7 separate regions of the Homo sapiens genome follow, and regions 2, 3, 4, 5, 6 and 7 are each linked to region 1. Evidence: promoter capture Hi-C in 16 types of primary human blood cells and fetal thymus (Javierre and others, 2016). All regions are on one chromosome and are shown on one strand. Each heading gives the region's core, a stretch centred on a gene start or on the middle of the fragment in contact. The rest is flanking DNA. Distances are from core to core; before and after follow the strand shown. Region 1 holds the start of TRA2A (transformer 2 alpha homolog). Region 2 overlaps SPMIP4 (sperm microtubule inner protein 4). Region 3 overlaps LOC124901820 (translation initiation factor IF-2-like). Region 4 overlaps OSBPL3 (oxysterol binding protein like 3). Region 5 holds the start of LOC124901603 (a long non-coding RNA gene). Region 6 holds the start of PALS2 (protein associated with LIN7 2, MAGUK p55 family member). Region 7 overlaps PALS2 (protein associated with LIN7 2, MAGUK p55 family member).

Region 1 (3,044 bases), core at 513-3,012:
ATTAGCCGGGTGTGGTGGCACGCACTGTAATCCCAGCTACTCGGGAAGCTGAGCCAGGAGAATCACTTGAACCCGGAGGTGGAGGTTGCAGTGAGCCGAGATCGCGCCACTGCACTCCAGCCTGGGTGACAGAGCAAGTCTCCGTCTCAATAATAATAATAATAATTTCTTTTGTAGAGATGGGGGCTCACCATGTTGACCAGGCTGGTTTCGAACTTCTGGCCTCAAGCGATCTTCCGCCTAGGGTCTCCAAAGTACTGGGATTACAGGCGTCAGCCACCACACCCAGCCAAGTTCAACATCTTTTCTAAGAGCCAGATGTCATTTAAGTTTATCCCTATCAATAACTGACATTCAAATGCTGAAATCTTGCCCCCAGTGGTAGCAATCTTCATAATAATGCCAGATGAACTTTCCTACCATAGAACTATAGTTGAAAGTCTATGTCAATCTTTTTACTACAAAGCACTGTAGGAAAAAAATTTAAGATGAAACTAATTTTTAAAGTTGCATTACACAAGTAAAACTCATCTCAGAGATTATTACTATGATTGGGAACCAAGTTGACAGATTTGGGAGGTCTTCACTGTGAAGCTTTATGGAAATATCTAAGTCAAAAAAACTAGTAGGGAGCTAAGCATTATAAAAAAAAAACTACACGGCTGTCTCTAGGAGGGGGAACTGGAGCAGGGACACGAGGCAAGGAGCAGCGGCTTTGCATCATAACCTCATCTGTGCATGTACTACGTCGACATTACACAGGGCAAATATGGAAGAAAAGTAATACAGTCAGCTGACAACGTGCCCCCCAAAAGCCTGTTATATATACACGATTCCAGCCGGGCGCGGTGGCTCAGGCCTGTAATCTCAGCACTTTGGGAGGCCGAGGCGAGCAGATCGCTTGAGTCCACAAATTCGAGACCAGCCTGGGCAGCATGTCAAAACCCCATCTCTGCAAAACACACAAAAATTAGCCGGGTGGGCCGGGTACGGTGGTTCACCCTTGCAATCTCAGCACTTTGAGAGGCCCAGGCGGGCAAATCACCTGAGGTCAGGAGTTTGAGACCAGCCTGTCCAACATGGTGAAACCCCCGTCTCTGCTAAAAATACAAAAATTAGCCGGGCGTGGTGGTGCATGCCTGTAATCCCAGCTACTGGGGAGGCTGAGGCAGGAGAATTGCTTGAACCTGCGAGGTGGAGGTTGCAATGAACCTAGATAGCGCCACTGCACTTCAGCCTGGGCAACAGAGTGAGACTCCGTCCCAAAAAAGAAAAAAATTAGCCGGGCGTGGTGGCGCGCGCGGGAGCCTGAGGTGGGAGGATCGTCTGAGCCCGGGAGTTTGAGGCTGTGGTGAGCAGTGATCGCTTCACTGCACTTCAGCTTGGGTGACAGAGCGAGACCCTGACTCAAAAAATAAACAAACATAAAAAAACGCTTCCAATGTTTTGTTCCCTTACATCAGAATCCACTTGGACAATATTTAAAGGGGCTAAGGTCATATAAGGCTCATCTGGCGACTGAAAAGTCTTCAAAGAGGTTGACGCGTCCGAGGTGAGTCTGAAGTTTGGAGGACAGCACGGGACCGCGATTCCAAGGCGCCCAGGTTGAGAGCGCAGGCCGCCCGCCAACCTCCACCCTCGCTCCAGGCCCAGCCGACACAAAGCCTCGCGGGAGGTGGAGCCTCGTGACGTCACAGAGACGCCCGCCCCCTTTACGTCGTGCTCTGAGGAGGCCAGGAGATTTCTGGCGGCGCCGGCGCCATTTTGCTGGAGCCTGCGACCGAGTGGGAGTGGAGTGGAGCGGCTGTGGTTGCCGACTCTTTCCTCTTCCCCACGGTCCAGTCAGCGGGTTAATTAGGCCATCGGCCCTCGAGCCGAGACTTGTCTCTTATTTAGTTCTGGGGAGCGCCTCGTCGACATGAGTGATGTGGAGGAAAACAACTTCGAGGGCAGAGTGAGTACAAAGCCGCGGGAGCCGTCTAGGCGGCGGCCCAATGCTCGGGGTTTCACGGGAACAAGCGCGGTCGGGCGGGGTTGCGGGTAGTCCCGCGAGGAGCAACCTCTGGAGCCATCGCGATTGATTCCTCCCATCCCAAGATGGCTTCTGGGTTCCACTCCTTCCCCAAACACCACGGATAACACCCCTCCCCCTTTTTTGGAGGCTGACTGATACCTGGACTTCTGGGTCCTCTTCCCTCCCCGCCCCCGCATTGCTTCCTCCCTTCTCCCCACCCCTGAGGCTTCCTTATGTCTGCTCCGAGGTGTGGGTCCCCGTCGCGGTTGGGCGGGAGGAGGCGGCAGGGAGCTCCCCTCCGTCCGGATAGTGGTAGGTGCTTCCTGCGGTGGCATTTCTGGCGACCCCGAGCATCGTAGAGGGTCTCGGGATCGAAAGTGCGCGGGGCTGCTTTCCGGGCGGGGAGAAGCTGGCGTGGGACTAGCTGGGGCCTGTGTCTCCTTGGCTCTCTATTTCAGTGAGCGGCCGCGTCTCTGTTGGAACCGGCGGCGTTGCGTCTAAAAAGGCGAAAGCCTTGAGGTTGAAGGTGGGACGAGCCTAATGAAGTGGTTAGTCAACGACCGCACCGACCCTTAAGCGTTCTTAAGACGAGAGCTGTGAGGGGAAACTACGCAAGGAGCCCTTTTCCCTTAATGTCCCTTCGACTTTCCTTTCACTTCGAAATGAATGTGGAAATGCTGTCACGCCTTATTTTTCTAATTCCTCGATGTTGGGTTTTTTCTCTTCTTTATATCTCAACTTTTAATGCTCTTCTTCCTATGACCTTTCATCTAAAAACTGACCACTCCTTTACAGGTTTTTACGGTAAAAAAAAAAAAATCTGTCTTTCTTTAATCTTACATAGCTGAACGAATTCATTGGCTCAGTATTTTTAAGATAACTAGTCAGTATATACTGTTCTGTAACTTAAAAGATGACCTGAAAATTAACAGGCCCTCTCCCATTTCTCTTCTCACTCTATCCCCCACCGAAGAGGGCTCAGAAAAAAGTTTTTATTAATATATTTGGGGTCGGAGAAATACAAACATCA
Region 2 (3,044 bases), core at 484-2,983, 1.6 Mb before region 1:
GCTTTTCTCTAGTCACGCCTCCTAGTAGTTACTGGCTAAATTACTGAATTTGGGGTTTGATGCATAAAATCTTGTACAGTGACTTTAAAATGAAATACTGGCTCATCTATAGGGAATGTGTCCTTTTCAAAAACAAGTAAACAATTTTCTATCGCTAGAGATGGTAGCACCAATAATTTGATAATTATTCTCTTTGTTATAGAGATGTATTTTATTTACATTGAGAACTACTGGGCTAGCAGAAAGGGAGAGAGAGGGAGAGAGACATGGAGAGAGAGTGAGAGAGACAGTGAGAGAGAGGGGGAGGAAAAGAGGGAGAGAGAGAAAGGGAGACGGAGAGAGAGGGGGAAAGAGAAAGGTTTAAAATTTCATTAAAATTATTAAAACATAGCCCTCATTTGGAGTTGGCAGATAACTATCATTTTTTAAAAATGTTTAAGAATCAGAAAGCAATGAAGTGAATCCAGAAACAAATGGGAGCCTATAATGAAATCCTATCATGAAATCCTAAATTATTACATCCTAAAATGTCAATTTTTATTTTAATTTGGTTCCTTCTCTACAATTCTGTGAGTATTAAGGCTAAGGGGAGGGAGACATGATACCTTAAAGTAAGAGGGAAATATGACTTATTTATGCATTGTCTTTTATTTTAAATGATTTCCTGCAACTTTCCAGCTTTAGGTGGATGCCAGCCCAAATGATTGATTAGCATTTTCTACCGGCTCATCTTCTGGGGACGATGTAATATACGGGGGTCAGATGTTGAGAAATTGACTCATTTAGGTTTTGAATGTAACTTTTACAAACTTAGATATTAAAGCTTAGGTTGTCATTAATCAAATGCATTTAAATATTTTTCACTTGTCATGTCCCCCAAATCGTGTCTGTTGATCGTTGTCAGACAGCTAGGGAGGACGTAGAGGTCTGAGAGCTGAATGCCAGCATCCCTTCTGCAGCACCCCAAATCAGTGGGCCCAGGACTCTCCTTGCCTAGCCAGTGCGGGGTTAGCAAACTTTTTTTCTGTAAAGAGCCAGATGGTAAATATTGTAGGCTTTACGGTCTCTGTCCAACTATTCAACTCTGCCATTGTGGGGCAAAAGCAGCCATAGACCGTATGTATATAGTCCATAAATGAATGGTCATGGCTGTATTCCAATAGACTTTTGTTTACAAAAACGGGCAGGGAGTTGGATTTGGCCCATGGGCCATGCTTTGCCAACTCTCAATCTAGTGACTTCACAAGATAATACATTCCACTTATAGTCCTGAGTGTTGCTTCTTCATTCTATTCAACAATTATTACAGGTGGGGGAGGAGGGGTTATGTTAAGCCAAGCACTGTACTGGTAAAGAGAAAAAAGTAGCTCCACAGTCCATACCTCTTTCTCTTTCCCTCTCTCTCTCTTCCTGTCTCTCCCCTTCTCTCTCCCTATCTACCTACCTATCTCCCCTTCTCTTTCCCATTCTCTCCCCCTCTCTCTCCCTCCCTTTTTCTCCCACTTTCTTCCCCCTTCCTTCTCTCGCCCTCCTCCCCCAACCCTTCACCCCACCACCCCCTTCCTCTCCTCCATGTTTCTGACTGGATCCTACTGTTCTCAGGGTATAGTCCAGAGGATTTAGAAGGCCCCACAGGATACTGTCCTTGTTTTCCTCTCATGCTCCACCTCTCACCATGGCCCTTGTCTACATGCCCCAAGTTCTAGAATTCTATATCAACTCTTCTAATATAGTTCAAAATTCAACTCTATTTTCTCAGCCCCTAAGATCTGGGTAAGTTCTACTGAGATCTCAGATCTTTACTCCATGCCTTGTGGAATTCCTCCAAATTTATCCAAGTTCCCAGGACAAGGATAGGGATAGCATTTGAAAGTCTCATGGTCACTTCTGACTTTGGGTTCCTGGTTCCACTTAAAACAACACACTGACCCAGATGTGAAACTCAGTCATCCCTCATTTTTCTCTAAGGACCTTGTCCATGCAGAGCATTTGTGAGCCTGGTAAACTTCACTGAACTGTTGGGGATCAGGAAGGAGAGTCACACCATGCCATGCTACATGTAACCAAAACACCTTGTTAGCCATAACTTCCACATTCTTAAAAGGTCTTTAACCAGCTGTCGCCAAGGGTTTCTCCCTGGGTTTTCAACCAGTGCAGTCCCCAGTAGCCTCACCATCCTGCTGGCTCCTCTCATCTCCCTCTTCCCTTACTCCCCTTTCCTCTCCTCTCCCTCTTTCAAGAGCAAACAAACAAGTTTCTCCCACTGCAGAGCAGTTTAATCAGTCTGAGCTTGCTTGAGCTCCTACCACCACCCATACTTTCAGAGTCTCTGTGTCTGCAAGGGGCTTAACAGAATATTTTACCAAACAAAAGTAATTCTTCCCTAAGAGAGATTCTACACTGAAGTCAACACTGTCAGGAATTTTCCAGTCTATTAAACTCTAGGCCTTTTTACCTGCTATTCCCTTGCATGCCACAGTATTTCTTCTGTTTCCTCTAGATAACTCCTACTCATCCTTTAGAACACATCTTGTGATTTCCCGCAAGAATCCTTCCTACTGAAAGGATTCCTGTTTGTCCTGCAAAGTGCCTTATAGGTATATACCATAATACCAATCCAGGACCACTTAAATCCAAGCTTAAGTTTAGGGTAGATGCAAACTGGGGCCACAGGGGAACTGGTTAACTTCTGACTCACCTTGAACATGAGAGGGTAAGCATTTTAAGGTCCCAGCTTCTTGTGTAGATGGTCTCCTTTAGTTTCCTCACTTGGCTGATTTCCATATCCCTCACCTTAAAACAAAAATGTAAATTTGCCAGGATCAGCCCTGCCCTAAGGGCAGAAGTGGCTTCCCTGCTTGCTTACTTCACTGGGTTCCTATTTACCCTCTATGTAGCACTTATCCCTTTCTGTCTTGTCAAAAAGCTAGTTGTTTTTAAGATTTTTTTTTCTCCTCCCAGTATTTTTAGTTGTTTTCAGTGGGAAGTTTGGTCCAAATAACCTAGGCCGCCATTACTGGAAACTGAAAGTCATTAAATCCTTC
Region 3 (2,915 bases), core at 143-2,642, 1.2 Mb before region 1:
TATTAATTTACCTAAAGGTAAAAATATGGACTTTGAGGTTTATGTTTAAATGTTTGATGTCTTCCCCAGATTTACCCATTAGGCAGTAATCAAAAGTTAGGGCATGGAACTCAGATCTGAGTTCAGATCCTCATATATATTGTGCCAGATTTATAGGCTGCCTCTCTAGGATTCAGTTTTTGCCATCTGTAAAATAGGGACAATAATAATTTATAGAGTTGTACAAAGATCCAATGAAATGATGTATATAAAGGATCATGCTGGACAAAAATAAGCAATCCAAAAAATGTGGGTATTATAGATATCTAACTTGGTGCTATTAAAAGAAAAACTTTAGATAAATGAACTTTAACAGAGTTTAATTGAGCAAAGAATGATTCTTGCCTCAGGCAGCTCCCAGAACCAGAATAGGTTCAGAGCAACTCTGGGGCTGCCACATGTCTGGATAACATTGAAGGACAGAAAAAGGGCAGTGACGTACAGAAAAGGGGAGTGACGTACAGAAACAGTTGGTTTGGGCACAGCTGCACAGCTGCCTTATTTCAACATTGGGTTGAGCAGTTGGCCTGTGATTGGCTGAACTGTAACCTAACACATCCAGTGAGGTTACAGTTCACTATACCCGGAGCAACCTTTAGGCTGAACTTGAAATACTAAGGAGGGAGCTTTAGGCTAAACAATTTAACAGTGCCCATTGTTCTAACTAAGCTAAAAATAGCGAAGTTGTGGAATAATTTCATATTAATTTTCTTTTTGTAAACTTTTTGTCCATTTTCGACAAGAAAGGATCCGTATCGACATTTAAAACTTAATGGGATTGTTTATTGCACTGTGACTTCTCTAGGGGCTATTTATACCTCAAGTCTATTTCTAATTCTAGAATGTAAGGCTAATCATTCCTAGAGAGGAGGTCCAGCATTACCCGGGGCCAGGCTTTTTGGTGAGCAAGGAGAGGTGAGAAATGGATTTGGGGAACTTTGAAGCATGCTTGCTCAGCCTTCTCTGTGAGGCCCTAATCAAAGGCTGGTCTTTCTATGGTATGTTTCCCCAAAACTCCCTCTGCCAAGTCAGAATTGCTGGGACCTTTTAAAGCTTTTTCAGCACGTCACTCCTCTAGTGGTTGTAAGCTTCTTAAAGGCAGGAATCCAGATTTATTCAGGTACACAGTAGGCACTCAACAGTATTTGTAAAATGGAATGGAATTCCAGGGAATCAGAAACTAATAATCATAGCTACCATTTATCAAGTATCTGCTGGTATATCTAATCACAGTAACTCAGTGAGCTAGGCGTGATTATTCCCACTTTCCAGATAAGGAAGTGGAGGTTTGGAATAGTGGTGACAGCAAGTAAGAGGCAGAGTTGGAACTCAAACGTAGCATTTGCACCAACTCCAAAATCATCAAACAGCCATGTCTTAGTTGGCTGCCCACACTGACACTGGGATTTGCTTGGTTTGGGGTGGTGTTGATTTTTTATTGTTTTTTAATATAAGAAAGTTAGCAAAAGAAGATGGATTTACTTGCAGAAAGCAAGCTGACTTGATTTCTGAAGTCCCTGTGTGCCCATTCCCACTGGATGTCTAGACTCCTTACAGAGATGGAGCCTCAGAATGAAATGACAGGTACAGTTCTTTGGGGGAGAAAAAAAGAAGCTTGAAGGTTTCAACATATAGTATTAGAAAAAAATTCCATTTCTACCAACAGTTTGAAACGAAAGCTTTCATGATATCACAGGTGCCTAAGGTGACAGAAGCTCTACTTGCAGGGTTGTTTTCTTTTCCATCATTCAGACCAAACACATTTATTACACTGGTGCTTTTAGCAATCAGTCAAGATTGAGTCAGGTGCCAGGATAATTTTCCTTGCCAAATTGCTTTTTCCATTGCAATTAGTCTTTTTAAGGACCTTACCAAACAACAAGTGTGTACACAATTCTCATACTCCCCTTCCAATTATAACTCAGCTAAGAAGTTGTATCAGTAATAAATTGTTATAGATGAAAACATCAACCACACCCACTCTATCACCAGTCTCTCCCTGTATTCTTAGATAACTCTTGGAATCAGGTGTAAGATTAAGAACGGCTCGTTTTAAAAAACAGAATGTATTATACAATCCAAAAATATGTCATTTAAATCAGTTCAGCTGTCTGGTTTACCCTAGTTGGGATTCTTTACAAAAGCTCTGGGCTTGGCCATCACCTATTTGCCCTCTAAAATTATTTTGTACAAAGCTGTGTCGGCCACTGCTCTCGAAACCCAGTTCCTTTTTTTCCGGAGCACAAAGACTACATTTTCCAGCCTGTCTTGCAATTAGGAGAGACTCTGTGACTGATTTCTGGCCAAAGGAAGGTACAGTAGGCTCCCTTTATCTGCAGTTTCACTTTTTGTGGTTTCAGTTACCCACTATCAGTCTCCATCCAAAAATATTAAATGGAAATTTCCAGAAATAAGCAATTCATAAATTTTACATTTGTGCTATTCTGAGTAGCATGATGAAATCTCATGCTGTCTTGCCCTGTCCTCTCCAATGACACAAATCATCCCTTGTCCAGCATATCCATGCTGTCTACACGCCTGCCTGCTGGTCACTTTGTGGCCATCTAGGTTATCAGATTGGCTGTCATGACATTGCAGTGTTTGAGTTGGATCACCCTTATTTTATCTAGTAATGGCCCCTCTGTGCAATAGTAATGATGCGGGCAATTGGGATATTCCAAAGAGAAGCTGTAAAGTGAGAAAGTGAAAGTTCTCAATATGGAAAGAAAAAAATTGTATGCTGAAGTTGCTAAGATCTATTTCAAGAACCAAATCTCTCTGTGAAACTAAAGAAGAGAAAAGAAATTTGTGCTAGTTTTGCTATCTCACCTCGAACTGCAAATGTTATGGCCGCTATGTGATGTAAGTGCTTGCTT
Region 4 (3,073 bases), core at 220-2,719, 1.3 Mb before region 1:
ACTTTATGATGCAGAGTTTTCAAGAGTTAAATTGGCTGAGCCCGAGGAAGAACATTTTGGGTTGCATTTAAAATACTTGTTATTTGATATCTTAATTAAAACATCTGCAGCTACTTTCAGAACAGCTAATAAGAGATGTTGACATTGGTAGCCAATGTCAGATTATATGTTATGGATGAGCAGTCCTCACATGTCTCCGTTTTTATTTTTATGTCTTTCAAAATGCGCCTCTATCCTCATCACTCGCCACCTGGCCGCCCTCCCACGGAGGCTTCTGGAGGCTTCCGTTCAAGGGCCTTCCCCTCAGCCTTGACCAATCTGAGCAAGTGGGAGCTGACTGTATCAGGAGCGCCCTCTTGAGGACACACTTGATGAGGGAAACTAAAGAAGTTTTTCCTTCAGTTCAGCATTGCACGCTGTTACATCTCAGTGCAGGGGAGAAAGAATGGATTTCATGAGACACAAAAGTTCATTCATTTTTTGTTTTTCTGTCCTTTGTTTCCATCAGGTCAGCCACCATCCGCCTATCTCTGCGTGTCATGCTGAGTCTAGAAATTTTGTTTTCTGGCAAGGTAATGTGCTAATACATTTTACTTCCATCATATTGTGTAATATGTTATCTATTTATTTTATCCAAGAATTGCTGTCAATTCTTACTGAGATCAAAAGTGGTCCTTGGATTTGGGCCTGGTTGGAAGGATCTGCGCCACCTGTTCTTGCCTCTCATCTCTCACTTAGTTTATCTGAGCCACCTCCATTTATTTCTGTAACTTTATCTTATGTAAAAATCATTTGAAATGCCTCACATATTTCAAGAGACATTAAATATTTACAGTTGTTTATCAGAGTGTAGACAGCAGAGGGGTTTTCAGCTTTTGTCAAACTTAAATTTTATTTCTGAAGTCGTGTTTTACATTGCTTACTTCTTTTCATTTTTGAGATGATTGTTCCTAAAATTTTGTTCAGTTTATATTTTGAGTTGGGGTTGGGTGGGTAAATCTTCTAAAGAATAAATAAGGCTATAGATATTTCCTAGATGGATTAATTTTGTTAATCTCTCAATTTATTAAAAAAAAGTGTACTGTAGAAGGAACATATAAGCATCCTAGGTTTTTGGACAGTGAGCACATATACATTTTAAAAATATTTTTCTCTGCTACTAGTGATATCACACGTTACCTTTACACACACAGGCACACACACACACGCAGTCTATTAAACTTTAAAAGTACGAAACAGTATACTGTAACCCCCTTCCCCAGCCACTCAGTTTCTCTCTTTGGAGGCAATCAGTATTTCCAGTTTAAAGTGACAAGTACCATGGTTTTCTTTCTTCACCTTTGCTATTAAAGTTTAAAATTAAAACTGCTCTCTCACCAAAACCCTCTGGAAATATTCTCATAAGGTTCCTAGCCTCCTAATTGGTAAATCTCACTCATGCTATAAGCACCTCTTCTTTGTTTTTTCAAAAGTTGGATTTTTTTTTTTTTTTTTTGAAATGGAGTCTCAGTCTGTTGCTAGGCTGGAGTGCAGTGGTGCGATCTCGGCTCACTGCAACCTCCGTCTCCCGTGTTCAAGTGATTCTCCTGTCTCAGCCTCCCGAGTAGCTGGGACTACAGGCATGCGCCACTATGCCCAGCTAATTTTTGTATTTTTAGTAGAGATGGGGTTTCACCATGTTGGCCAGGATGGTCTTGATCTCTTGACCTTGTGATCCGCCTGCCTCGGCCTCCCAAAATGCTGGGATTACAGGCATGAGCCACTGCGCCCAGCCAAAAGTTGGATTTTTTTTTAATGCGAGGGGTCTTCTCAAAGTAGTTTTGTGTGCTCCTGTGTTACATCCTTCCCTTCTCAGCCTTAGCATCCTTCTCCTAGGCCATACTTCCCCATCAGCCTTTTCCTGAGCAATCTACCTATTTCCATGGGCCTAGGATTCCCAAATCTTGCTTTGTAACCCAGCCTGACATTTCTCTGCCTTTTATGTAGGTTGTGTAAACCATTTCCGTTTGTTGTGATTGTAGATGTAGCTGGGCTTAAATCTGCCCTCATGATGTTTCTTTTCTGTTTGTCACATCTGTTCTTTGTTCTCCGTTTCCTCTTTCTCTGCCTTTTGGATTGAATAATTTCTATCATTCTCTTTCATCTCCCCTGTTAGCTTATTAGCTATACTTACCTGTTTTGTTTCTTGTTAAAGTTGTTACTTTAGGATTTATGTTATATATTTTTAATATCATCAAATAATATTATGCCAGTTTCATATAGTGAGATTTACAGAAGTATACTTCCATTTTCCCTTCCCAACCTCTCTACTATTTTTTCATACGTCTTCTGTATATCATAAACCATGTAGTACATTGTTAATACTTTAGCTTTAAACAGCCATCTATCTTTTTTTTCTCTTGGTAACAATTTTATGAACATATAACTTATATACCATATCATTCACCCGTGTAAAGTGTACAATTCAATGGTTTTTATTCACAGAATTGTGAATTTAATAAACTGTGCAGTTATCAGCACAGTTAATTTTAGAACATTTTCATCACTCCAAAAAGAATCCTCTTTAGCAAATATTATCCACCCCCTCTGCCACCTGCCCCATTTCTCTCAATATTCCCCAGCCTATAAATGTGCCTGTTTGGGGCATTTTATATAAATAGGATTAAACAATATGAGGCCCACTGTGCTCGCTGGTCCCAGACCCACCTCTCTCACCTGGACCCCAGCCAGGGCTCCCCACTGTCCCCCCTGCTTCAACCCTGATTTCCCTGTGATCTGTAGATCCTCAGTGCAGCAGCCAGATGGGATCCTCTTGCTGTTCTTTTTCTATTTCCTGGCTTCTCTGTTGGTACCACCATTCATTGCAAGTTAGAGAAATCTGACATTGTTCATAAATTCGTTCTTTTTCAGTCTGTATCTAACTTGTCACCTAGTTGACCTAGTGCCTATTTCTTCTTCTTTAGTATTTCTGGGCTCACTCACTTCCCCGCGTCTGTTGTCTTGGTTCCCTTCATCCCGTTTGTTATCCCCTGGGCAATTGCAGTAGCCTCTTAACTTGTCGCCTTGCTTCTCC
Region 5 (2,880 bases), core at 197-2,696, 1.6 Mb before region 1:
AACATTTCTCTATCCCATGGACTTCCTAATTTTGCTTTTCTTCTAGTTTAGACAGCTCCCACATGGTTTTTTTTTAACCTCTGCCAGTTCTCCAAATGATAGGAAAATTATATCCCTATGGTCTCTTTAACATGTTTATTTTTTCCTTCAGTGTGCTAGCTGTTTTTGGCTTTTTGATTTTGAAGCAGTACTGTGTATATAAACAGGGGTTATATTTTGTTGATTGTTGATTGTTGATTGATTGCTTAAAGAAACAGATGGCCTGGGTTGAAAGTTCATTCAAAGATGGTTAGAGATCACTTTGCTGAAGCAGAATGCCCAAAACAATTCCTGGGAGCCTCTTAAAATAAGACACAGTAATTAAAAGCAACTATACCATTCTACAAACACAAAACTCATTTATTTTTTGCTTTATATTTTTTATACGAGTTATGAAACTTACTCACTGACAAAGAATTGGGCATGATTTATTTTAAAATTAAATTTAGTTTTGTCTAGCAAAATTAAGAAAATGTCCTGTTTTGTGGTATACATTCCAAGAGAATGCTAATTCCATGAGCACAGGGACATTGACTCACTGTCCTATCCCCCAGCATTAGAACAGTTTCTGCCATTTAAAAAAGGGTCCCAATAAATTTTTGATGATTAATTTTTTCAACCATACTTCTTTCTGTTCTTTTCATTTTGTTTTGTTTCCTCAATAAATCTTAGAGAGATCTGCTTGCCATATCCAATTGAACACCCCTACCACACACACATCTGTCGCGGCGCCATGTTCCCCACCTTCACGTCACCTGAGGACCTCTACACGGGCATTAAAGCCCGCACCCAGCAGCCCTTTCCTCCCACGGTGCCAACCAAGGCTTATGATTCAACAGTTTTGAAGACAAGAGGTAAAATGTGACCTGGAATCAGAACTGTATTAATTCTTATTATTGGGATTTCTTCAATAATAAAATTAAAGCAAGGAGCACAAAGGACTCAAGTCACAAATGTGTGACTCAATAGATCAGGAAACTTGTTCACAGCTGCGACTTTACAAATCAGCTGGCGCGCCACCATGGACCCATCAAATCAGACTCTCTGCAGGTGCTCCCAAACTTTCCCCTTGACACAGCCTCTCATGTTACAATCAGAAACCAAAACGTTGTAGAATTGGTGGTTTTTATTCCACTTCTATTTTCTATTTTTATTTCTTTCCTGCTCTCACGGTTTAGCTTTTAAAAATTTCATCCTAGCCCAGGTGATCAGCACAAGGGACAGTGTTTGCATCAATCACAGAGTCTGGACGTGGATGCAGCAGTGATAGAATTGAAAGATCCCCATTGAAATAAGATGCAGAAAGCAATGGGAGTAGTTTGTTCAGTCCTTCTTAACACCCTGGAGCAGGTTCTCCCAGCTGCAAACCTTGGAGTCTTTGTGAATGTGTTTTATCAGGAATCCCGTACACTAGTCATCGAATCTCTCCCACACTAGACACCTCGGTCTTTGCTGAGGAGTCCTACACATGTGCGTAAACAGAGAGGCCACCTCTGGAGAAAGAGTGAAAACACTTGAGAGAGGGACAGAAATGATACATGGTAGGCAAAGACAAATATTTGTTGAGTGCATTTAGGTGAGGTAGAAAAGACTCAAGAATTGTCCTATCCTGCAGTTCCTCTATACATGAATATTTGGACCAAAATGCAAGGACAGAATATTGCCATCGTCAGCCTCAACCTCGGTGTCTTATTAGCAGACAGTAACGTTTTGAAAGCTAACATAGTGGAATATGTAAGAGCATGGATTCTAGAGTCAGACTGCATGAGTAGAATTCTGGATCTGCCACTTACTCACCTGCGGTCCATGGGAGAGTTTCTGAACTCCTCTGTTCTGCTTCGCAGTCTGCAAAATGGGAATATTATTAATAGAACCTACTTATCAAATAACAGAGATAAATGTTAGCAGTTATTCTCTTACCCTGCTAGCGTATAATGACTGCAGTATGTGTGTACCATGCTGAACTTTCCCATTGCCTCTCAGACTAGGCAGCATTGGAAAAAGGCAGTGAAAGCTGTATCAAGTATACTGGCTGTTAGTATCGAGCACCATGCTTAGCTCTATAGCAGAAGTGGGGAGAGATGGTGCCATGCAAAAGAACTATAAATGTTCTAAAGGAAATGATAAGTATGATACATAAACAAGTAAAATTTTTATGACTTTGTTACGTAAATTGTCAAAGTAGATTTCTTTTTCTCAATCCTGAATTCAGTAATTTCTGAAATTATCTGAAGTACACATAGTTAGCAAGAAATCACAGAAATATGTGTTGAATTCATAACAACACTTTTTTTTTTTTTTGAGACGGAGTCTTGCTCTGTTGCCCAGGCCTAGAGTGCAGTGGCACTTTCTGGAACCTCTGCTTCCCGGGTCCAAGTGATTCTCCTGCCTCAGCCTCCCAAGTAGCAGGGACTATAGGCACGTGCCACCACACCCACCCACCCACCTAGTTTTTGTATTTTTAGTAGAGACAGGGTTTCACCATGTTGGCCAGGCTGGTCTCGAACTCCTGACGTCAAGTGATCTGCCCGCCTCAGCCTCACAAAGTGCTGGGATTACAGGCATGAGCCACCATGGCCAGCCCATAAAAACACTTTTCAGTGCAGTAACATAAGGGACTGAAAAAACAAGTTGTCATCTTAATTTCCTGCTCTTCCAAGCCTCTACCTCTCTCCAACCATTCAGTCACTATTAGGGAATTTTTAAAAGATGAGCATCCTCTAACAACCCTTATAAAAAAATCTTTCCAGGAACTAGTACAGCATTAGGTTTCTACTCTTCCACTTATTTTAATTCTTCTTTATTAGAACTAAGAAGCATGGGCCAGGTGTGGTGGCTCAT
Region 6 (3,095 bases), core at 53-2,552, 1.0 Mb before region 1:
ACTCCAATTGAAACGCATTTTAACGCACCCCAAACGTTCTCAGCTACACTACAAGACCACTTGTAATATACTTGAAGCACAAAGTAAAATTCCAACACTCTCCAAAGGCGTAGGAAAGAATAAAACGTGGCTAGCCTGACCTTACCCGGCTGTTTATAAGTAATGCGGAGAATTTTCTGAGCTTCCCCGGCAGTCTTCAATTCTCTCCCTCGCTTCACCCCCACCCCCTACACAGATGCACACCCAACTGATGGAAGTTTAACAAATGTAATCTCGAGCTGCAATCCCAGAAACTGGTAGGATTGAGAATAAACTCCCAGTAAAGTGTTAAAAAGTCCTTCTGCAAAAAAACATCTACCAACCAATCCACATCCTGTCACCACACGGTCGGATACCTCAATCGACTCCCCTGCTGACCCTCCACCCAGCCAAAATAAAAAAGCCCCAGCACCTATTTGGTTTCAGACAAACGTACCGAGAATCCGCGAGCACGATCTCAGCAGCGAACGCCCCCGCGGCAGCCTGTGCTCGGCCCACAGCCACTTTGGCCAAACAACTGGAGTCTCGTACCTCGGAAGTAGCGGCGGTAGTTGGAGAAAGCCTCCTCCCCTACCAACTCCGAGCTCGGGAGAGAACCGGGAGCCGGCGGAATCACCCCCTCTCGGGACAGACCCCGGAGGTGTCAGTCACAGCAACGCCGCCCCCAGGCCGGCTCTCCATTCAGGCTCCACCGCGACTCCCGCCGCAGAGGTGTAGGCACCCAAGCCCCGCGCCCGAAGGGGCCCCGCGCGTCTGCGGCCCTAGCCCCAGTCGGGGCCGCGCCGGGGAGCGCGTGGGGAGCGGCGGCAAGCAGCATGGGCCAGACACGTTGCCGAGCTCCGGCCCGCCCAGCCGCCCGCAGCCAGAGAGGCAGGAGCCCGGCCGAGCGCCCCTTCCGCGCGGGCCGGGCTGGGGGCGGCCAGCAGCCTCCCCGACCGCGGCGCCGCCGCCGCCGCCTGCCGGTCCCTCTTCCCCGCGCCCGCCGAAGCCCAGGTGCCGAGGGGGGCGGGGCGGGCCAGGGTCCCCGCGTGGCGCGCCGCGCCGAGCAACAGGGCGCCCCCGGCCGGCCCGGCGCGCGGCGCGACCGTTACCCGAGCGGCGTGGGGGTCCAGTTAACTCACCGGCTCGCACCTCAGCCGCCTCCGCGCCGCCGCTGCCGCCGCTCCCGGTCGCTCCCCGCCGCCGCTGCTCTCCCTCAGCCACAGGCGCCGCCGAGCAGCCCCATCTGCAAACTCGTGGCTCGTAGTTGAGAACTGGAAATGCGTCTCTCACTGCCCTCCGCCTCCCTCTCTCTCCTCCCCCTCCCTCGCTCCCCACTCTGCCCCAGCTCCGGTCGCCCCCGCCGCTGCCTCCGCGCGCGCAGCCAGCCGCGCCTCAGCCGCCCTCCTCCTCCTCCTCCTCCTCCTCCTCCTCCTCCAGCCGCCGCCGCCGCCGCCGCTTGGGCGCGCTCCCAGCCGGCCTCGCGCGTGCGCCGGACGTCGGGGAGCGCGCGCTCGGGCGCGAGGAGGTGCCACCGCCTCCGGAAAGCCGGGCCCCGCCCCTCCCGCCGCGGCTGGGCGCCCAGGTGGAGCCCCCTCCCAGCTTCTGAGCGCCCAGACTGACTGCGCTCTGCGCCCGGCCGGCTCGCTTCAGGGGTCCCGGACCTGCGCCCGCGAGAGAGGGCTGGTCGGACCCAGTCCCCGCCGGGTCTCCTGGGCCGAAGTCGCAGCTGTCTGTCAGCATTTACGGGTGGGCAAGATACTCCTCGGGGCATAAAACAGGCTCCGCCCTGACCTTTCTGAGAGTTTTACATTCAAGAACCCAGTCGTGGGGCACAAAAGAGAAATGGAACGAGAAGAAAAGCCTCTGGAAAAATCTCCCCCTCCCCCTTCACAGACTCCACTGGATCTGATGTGTATTTGGCAGGTTCTACGGCGCTGACTGTGTCCTTCATTAATTTTTTCCCAAAGGCCCGACCGGGCAGTGTGATTCACACCCGAGGAAATGCATGGACACTGGCTCTTTTCATAGCACCGAGGCTCCCGTGGAACTCCCTGGGTCGGCTTTGCCAGACACTCCCTGGACACAGTTGTTCAGCTCCTCCCCAGCACCTGGGCTTCCCAGACCTCAAAAGGGTGGGGTTGGGGAGGGCATGCCATCCTTTCAGCCTGGACTCTGCGTAGAGCTTGGTGAACTGTGATGAGTGTCCGGATGTGTAGATGACACATTTTGACAGAAGTGCAGATTTAATTTTTCAGTTGAAAGGAACTGAGCAATGCACTGCAGCAGAGACTTCTGGCTAGAAAAACATAGCAAGGCAGCCAGAGAACTTCCGATCCCCTTAAAAGAGCTCTGTGAACCCTCAGACCTGTGACAGGCGGCTTTTGGAAAAACTATTGTGTTCTTCCTAAAATTGAAGAATGTAATTTACATTTTACAAAATGCTTACTGCAATCTTTTCAAACCATGAACGTAGAAAGTGCAAGTCAAACTTTACGTGTGAGGAGTGTTATGAGGTGGCCTCCTCTGTGCAGCCTTTCCTGGCTTCTCTTGGGCACCTTGCACAAACCAGACCATTAATAAGTGTTTGCAGAATAAATGCGTGCATCATGGCCCTTTGGATTCAGAGATGAAGTTATAAGTTGTATTGTCTCCTCTCTTTGTGAATGTGGCAGGCATGGAAGGGAGAGAGAAAATACTATTGATGAGATGTATTAAGAAGGTCCAGTGTCCAAAACAGTGATTTTTGTGTTTATCCTCAACCAAGCATCAAAGATTAATTTACTTTTCCATTAGGATCATTAATTTTGCAAACCAACATGCAGGGGGGCCTTGTACAGTGTTAATTTAGAACCTTCTTTCCTGGAACCACAAACCCAGGCAAAGGTAATTGGAAGCATTTAAGGAGACTCAAACGTGCCCAGGGCACAGAGTAGCTTTGGGCCCCCTGTAGTCAGGATGGCTGGATGAAATGAAGTGGAGTGGGCTCGGAGCCCAAGGCAGAGACAAAGCGGAAGGATGGGGTTTGTCTTCTCGGGGTGTCAGCAAGACCTTTCAGGTCCTTCTTGCTGCCCCAG
Region 7 (3,109 bases), core at 142-2,641, 1.1 Mb before region 1:
TACTTACAGAGCTTTTGTGGTCATTAGTGGATATGCAGAGTGGTGAAAAATTTGAGTCACCCAACATTGCACAGTCCCAGCTGAGGTGGAAGAAAGCAACACTCTGCTTTCTTGTTTCGGCTCTCATACTAAAAACAAGTATCCTTTTCATAGTTTATTTTGTGCCACTTTTTTTTTTGCATTTTTCTGTTGTTTGTGATTTCACAAAATGGTCCCCAATCATAGCACTGAAGTGCTATCTAGTGTTTCTTTATCATGAAAAGGCTCTGGTGTGCTTTACAGAAAAATGTACATATTAGACAAGCTTTGTTCAGGCATAAGATATGGTAAGCTTGGCTATGAGTACAATGTTAATGAATCAATAATATATAATAAAGTATCTTTAAAGAGAAATACAGATAAAAAAGGCTATATATTGACCAGTTGATGAACATACTGTGACTAAAGGCTTGCAGGAACCTAACCCTGCATTTCCCCTAGAAGCAACACGGCTCAGCATTTGATAATTCTGCATTTGCAGAGACTTTATACACCATAACTATCTTGAATAATGAGAACTATTTTAATTTACATGTCTATCTCTAACACAAAATTAGTGGGTTCACTGAGGATATGGCATTTTATTTATTTTTGTACTCTAATTCTTAGTATTACTCCAGACACATCACATTTAATAAATACTCATTGGATGAAATTTTAAAATTCTGGCTTCTCATCATTGTAATGTGATTTGCTTTATATAGCTAGACTTTATGGTAAGAGCCCACGTATGTCAAGCTACACACTGCCCCCTATCTCAGTGAGGCCTTGCTCAACTGCATAATGGTCTGAATGTCATCCTCCATTCCTGACCCTGTCCCTCTTTTACAGCCAAAGACTATGCTTTTTAAATTCAAACTTAAAATGACAGTTAAATGGAAAGGTATTTACATTGATTTTTCCTAAGGTCAGTTGGTCCTAATAGACATAGTATACCTCAAAACTATTAGACACACTTCCAGTTAAAGTGGAAGACTGAACACACATGCCTATGTTCCCTCCCTCCTGAGGTCCCACTGAAATGACAAAACAGGTATGTAATTTTAAAAAAGAATAAAACAGCACTAATACTGGAGGGGAGGTGAGACAAAAATAAAAGAGAAAGAGATTAGCAAACCAGAAGTTTAGGAACTGCTTAGAAGTTAGAAAACAGATAAGAAAGGCTTGCTGGTTTGGCAAAGAAGGTACCCTTGAAAATCTGAAAATAATTCTCTCACAAAACATCTAAAAATGCAAAATAAAATACTGAAAACATCCCCTCAAAAAAAAAAAAAAAGTCCCCAAGAATATCCCTGTGAGCCAATATGAAGGGGAAAAAACAAACTAGTAAGTAGGTACTGAAGTTATGACTGCCCTGGGGTGTTTAGGATTTCAGTAACCAGGAGTTCAGAAGCTGCCATTTAGGCCCTGGCCTGTTCAAGATGAAAAATGCAACTTAGACCTTCCCACATGAAGCTGAGACCTTATAGGACTAACCCCTACTTTGTAAGAGTAGTCTAATAAAAACATGCCTGTTGGCCAAGGAAGACAATAAGGAAGTTGGCCTGTCTCAGATTGGACTCCATATTAGCAGAAAAAAATATCACCTGAGAATTAGTAATCACAGCCTACTCTCAAGGATTCAGGGTTCCAAATATACCTACCTGCCTAGTTCAGAACACCCCAAGCAGAGAAACTACGAAGTGGTCTTGGGTCAGTGGCTTCCACAGGTGCCAAAGAAAAGCCTTGGCAAACCTTGGAAAGAATGTGTCCTCTAACTGGGCTGCACAGAATTTCCTCCAATAAAACCCAGCGAAGCAAGAGCACACAATTCAAAAATCATCAAACAGTAACAAAAAGACAGGTAGCTGAAAACACAAGAAAGTAAGACTATCAGGAAAGAAAGCAGGTAAGATTGAAAAATCTTATCATCTAAGACTTTAGAAGTAAGCACAGTTCCTCCCAAGTGGACTTTCTCTGGGCCTCCCTCAAGAAGTCTGTGCGCACTTAAATATTCTTTTATACTAGAGTCAATACTTACTGTGTGAAATTGAAAACATAAACATATGCTTTCTAAGATGTATGTTTTTTAAAATTAGCATACCACCTCTCCCCAGTGAGCATTTGGAAATGTACTAGGCCATTTTTGATTGTCTCAGTAACTGTGGTAGAAAACCAAATATTAAGGGACACTAAACACTGAGTAGTGTTCAGGTCAGGACAATCCTGCATTGCAAAGTATAGTACTGCCAAAAATGCCAGTCATGAATTGAGAACCACTTTACTAATATAACTAAATCTGAAACTACTAACCATGATTAACTCTATGAAGTAAGAGTAGGGATAGAAACCTTTAACTTTCATGGTACATTCATTCTTCCATGCTGATTTTAACTTTGCATGTCATGTAGCATTAATAATTTTAAAAGCTTAATTAAAAATAAATTGATCATAAATAAGTAATGGGATGAGAGAACTATGTTACTCATTAACCAACATAAATTCCTCCCTCCAGGTACACTAGCTTGTTCAGAGCATTAACAATACAGAAATGCATTTGACTGCCCTGAAATTTCTACACTCAGAAAAGTAGTCTCTTCACACACTTAAATATTTCTTAGGTAAAATATCTCCAGAATTAAAACAGGCTTACTTACTAATGCTGGTTGTGTGCACATACATGAGGTACCTGAAACTTCTTTCGAGAAGCAGCAGCTGCAACAGTAATGCTTTCCATGGCTGACAAAAAGCCCAAGAAAGGAGTCAAGACCCAAAAAAATAACCATATAGAGTTGCAGTGGTGGGGTGGAATGGTTCAGTGGTACAGCTCCAGAGTATATCACTTAGCAAACTAATGAGAGCCTATTGTTAACAACTGATCTATCAATGAGGCAACTTGGTTTTGGATGTGATGGGAGGCCAATTAATGAAACACCTGTACAGGTGAAAATGGAAGATGAAGATATAATTGATGTGTATACAAAGCAGACAGGAAGTATCTACTAAAAGAAGATCTGCACTTACTTGAGAACTTTGCCTCCCAAATTTTCCAAACACACACACACACACAAAATTTGGATCTACAAATCAT

What was found. Contacts are between HindIII fragments. The CHiCAGO score rates a contact against its expected background, and 5 or more counts as called.
Region 2: a contact is called between a fragment that was not itself captured here and the fragment with the promoter of TRA2A in region 1, in 1 of 17 cell types (total CD8 T cells). The highest score is 6.5, in total CD8 T cells.
Region 3: a contact is called between a fragment that was not itself captured here and the fragment with the promoter of TRA2A in region 1, in 2 of 17 cell types (M1 macrophages and endothelial precursors). The highest score is 6.7, in M1 macrophages.
Region 4: a contact is called between a fragment that was not itself captured here and the fragment with the promoter of TRA2A in region 1, in 1 of 17 cell types (naive CD8 T cells). The highest score is 5.4, in naive CD8 T cells.
Region 5: a fragment that was not itself captured here is called in contact with the fragment with the promoter of TRA2A in region 1 in 1 of 17 cell types (non-activated CD4 T cells); the score reaches 5.5 in non-activated CD4 T cells.
Region 6: a contact is called between the fragment with the promoter of PALS2 here and the fragment with the promoter of TRA2A in region 1, in 2 of 17 cell types (naive CD8 T cells and naive CD4 T cells). The highest score is 8.9, in naive CD8 T cells.
Region 7: a contact is called between a fragment that was not itself captured here and the fragment with the promoter of TRA2A in region 1, in 1 of 17 cell types (non-activated CD4 T cells). The highest score is 5.8, in non-activated CD4 T cells.

The regions. Positions count from the first base shown.
Region 1 is chr7:23,530,699-23,533,742 of GRCh38, reverse strand. TRA2A (transformer 2 alpha homolog) reads left to right here and starts at 1,762. Exons shown (of 8, transcript NM_013293.5): 1 at 1,762-1,954. The coding sequence starts at 1,919. RefSeq lists enhancers at 524-1,023, 1,383-1,502, 1,024-1,525, 1,673-1,892, 1,903-1,952 and 3 more. The HindIII fragment of the contact is 3,554 bases long and covers 597-3,044 here.
Region 2 is chr7:25,171,492-25,174,535 of GRCh38, reverse strand. The region is part of intron 2 of SPMIP4 (sperm microtubule inner protein 4); the gene reads left to right. All of the region lies in intron 1 of LOC124901603 (a long non-coding RNA gene), which reads right to left. Among named protein-coding and RNA genes, the nearest start is that of SPMIP4, 7.3 kb to the left of the region's middle. The HindIII fragment of the contact is 1,815 bases long and covers 826-2,640 here.
Region 3 is chr7:24,763,146-24,766,060 of GRCh38, reverse strand. All of the region lies in intron 1 of LOC124901820 (translation initiation factor IF-2-like), which reads left to right. It also overlaps a transcript of GSDME not described here. Among named protein-coding and RNA genes, the nearest start is that of GSDME, 7.1 kb to the right of the region's middle. RefSeq lists an enhancer at 2,437-2,731. The HindIII fragment of the contact is 526 bases long and covers 1,130-1,655 here.
Region 4 is chr7:24,817,674-24,820,746 of GRCh38, reverse strand. It overlaps OSBPL3 (oxysterol binding protein like 3), which reads left to right. Exons shown (of 23, transcript NM_015550.4): 17 at 509-572. Among named protein-coding and RNA genes, the nearest start is that of GSDME, 62 kb to the right of the region's middle. The HindIII fragment of the contact is 7,449 bases long and covers 1-3,073 here.
Region 5 is chr7:25,153,024-25,155,903 of GRCh38, reverse strand. SPMIP4 (sperm microtubule inner protein 4) reads left to right here. Exons shown (of 10, transcript NM_138811.4): 6 at 712-893. LOC124901603 (a long non-coding RNA gene) reads right to left here and starts at 1,886. Exons shown (of 3, transcript XR_007060261.1): 1 at 1,837-1,886. The HindIII fragment of the contact is 4,248 bases long and covers 1-2,880 here.
Region 6 is chr7:24,571,659-24,574,753 of GRCh38, reverse strand. It overlaps PALS2 (protein associated with LIN7 2, MAGUK p55 family member), which reads right to left and starts at 1,302. Exons shown (of 12, transcript NM_001303037.2): 1 at 1,161-1,302. RefSeq lists enhancers at 434-553, 604-653, 599-1,098, 1,964-2,063, 2,084-2,153 and a silencer at 754-1,823. The HindIII fragment of the contact is 6,948 bases long and covers 1-3,095 here.
Region 7 is chr7:24,589,052-24,592,160 of GRCh38, reverse strand. The region is part of intron 1 of PALS2 (protein associated with LIN7 2, MAGUK p55 family member); the gene reads right to left. It also overlaps the pseudogene SUMO2P14. Among named protein-coding and RNA genes, the nearest start is that of PALS2, 17 kb to the right of the region's middle. The HindIII fragment of the contact is 2,116 bases long and covers 334-2,449 here.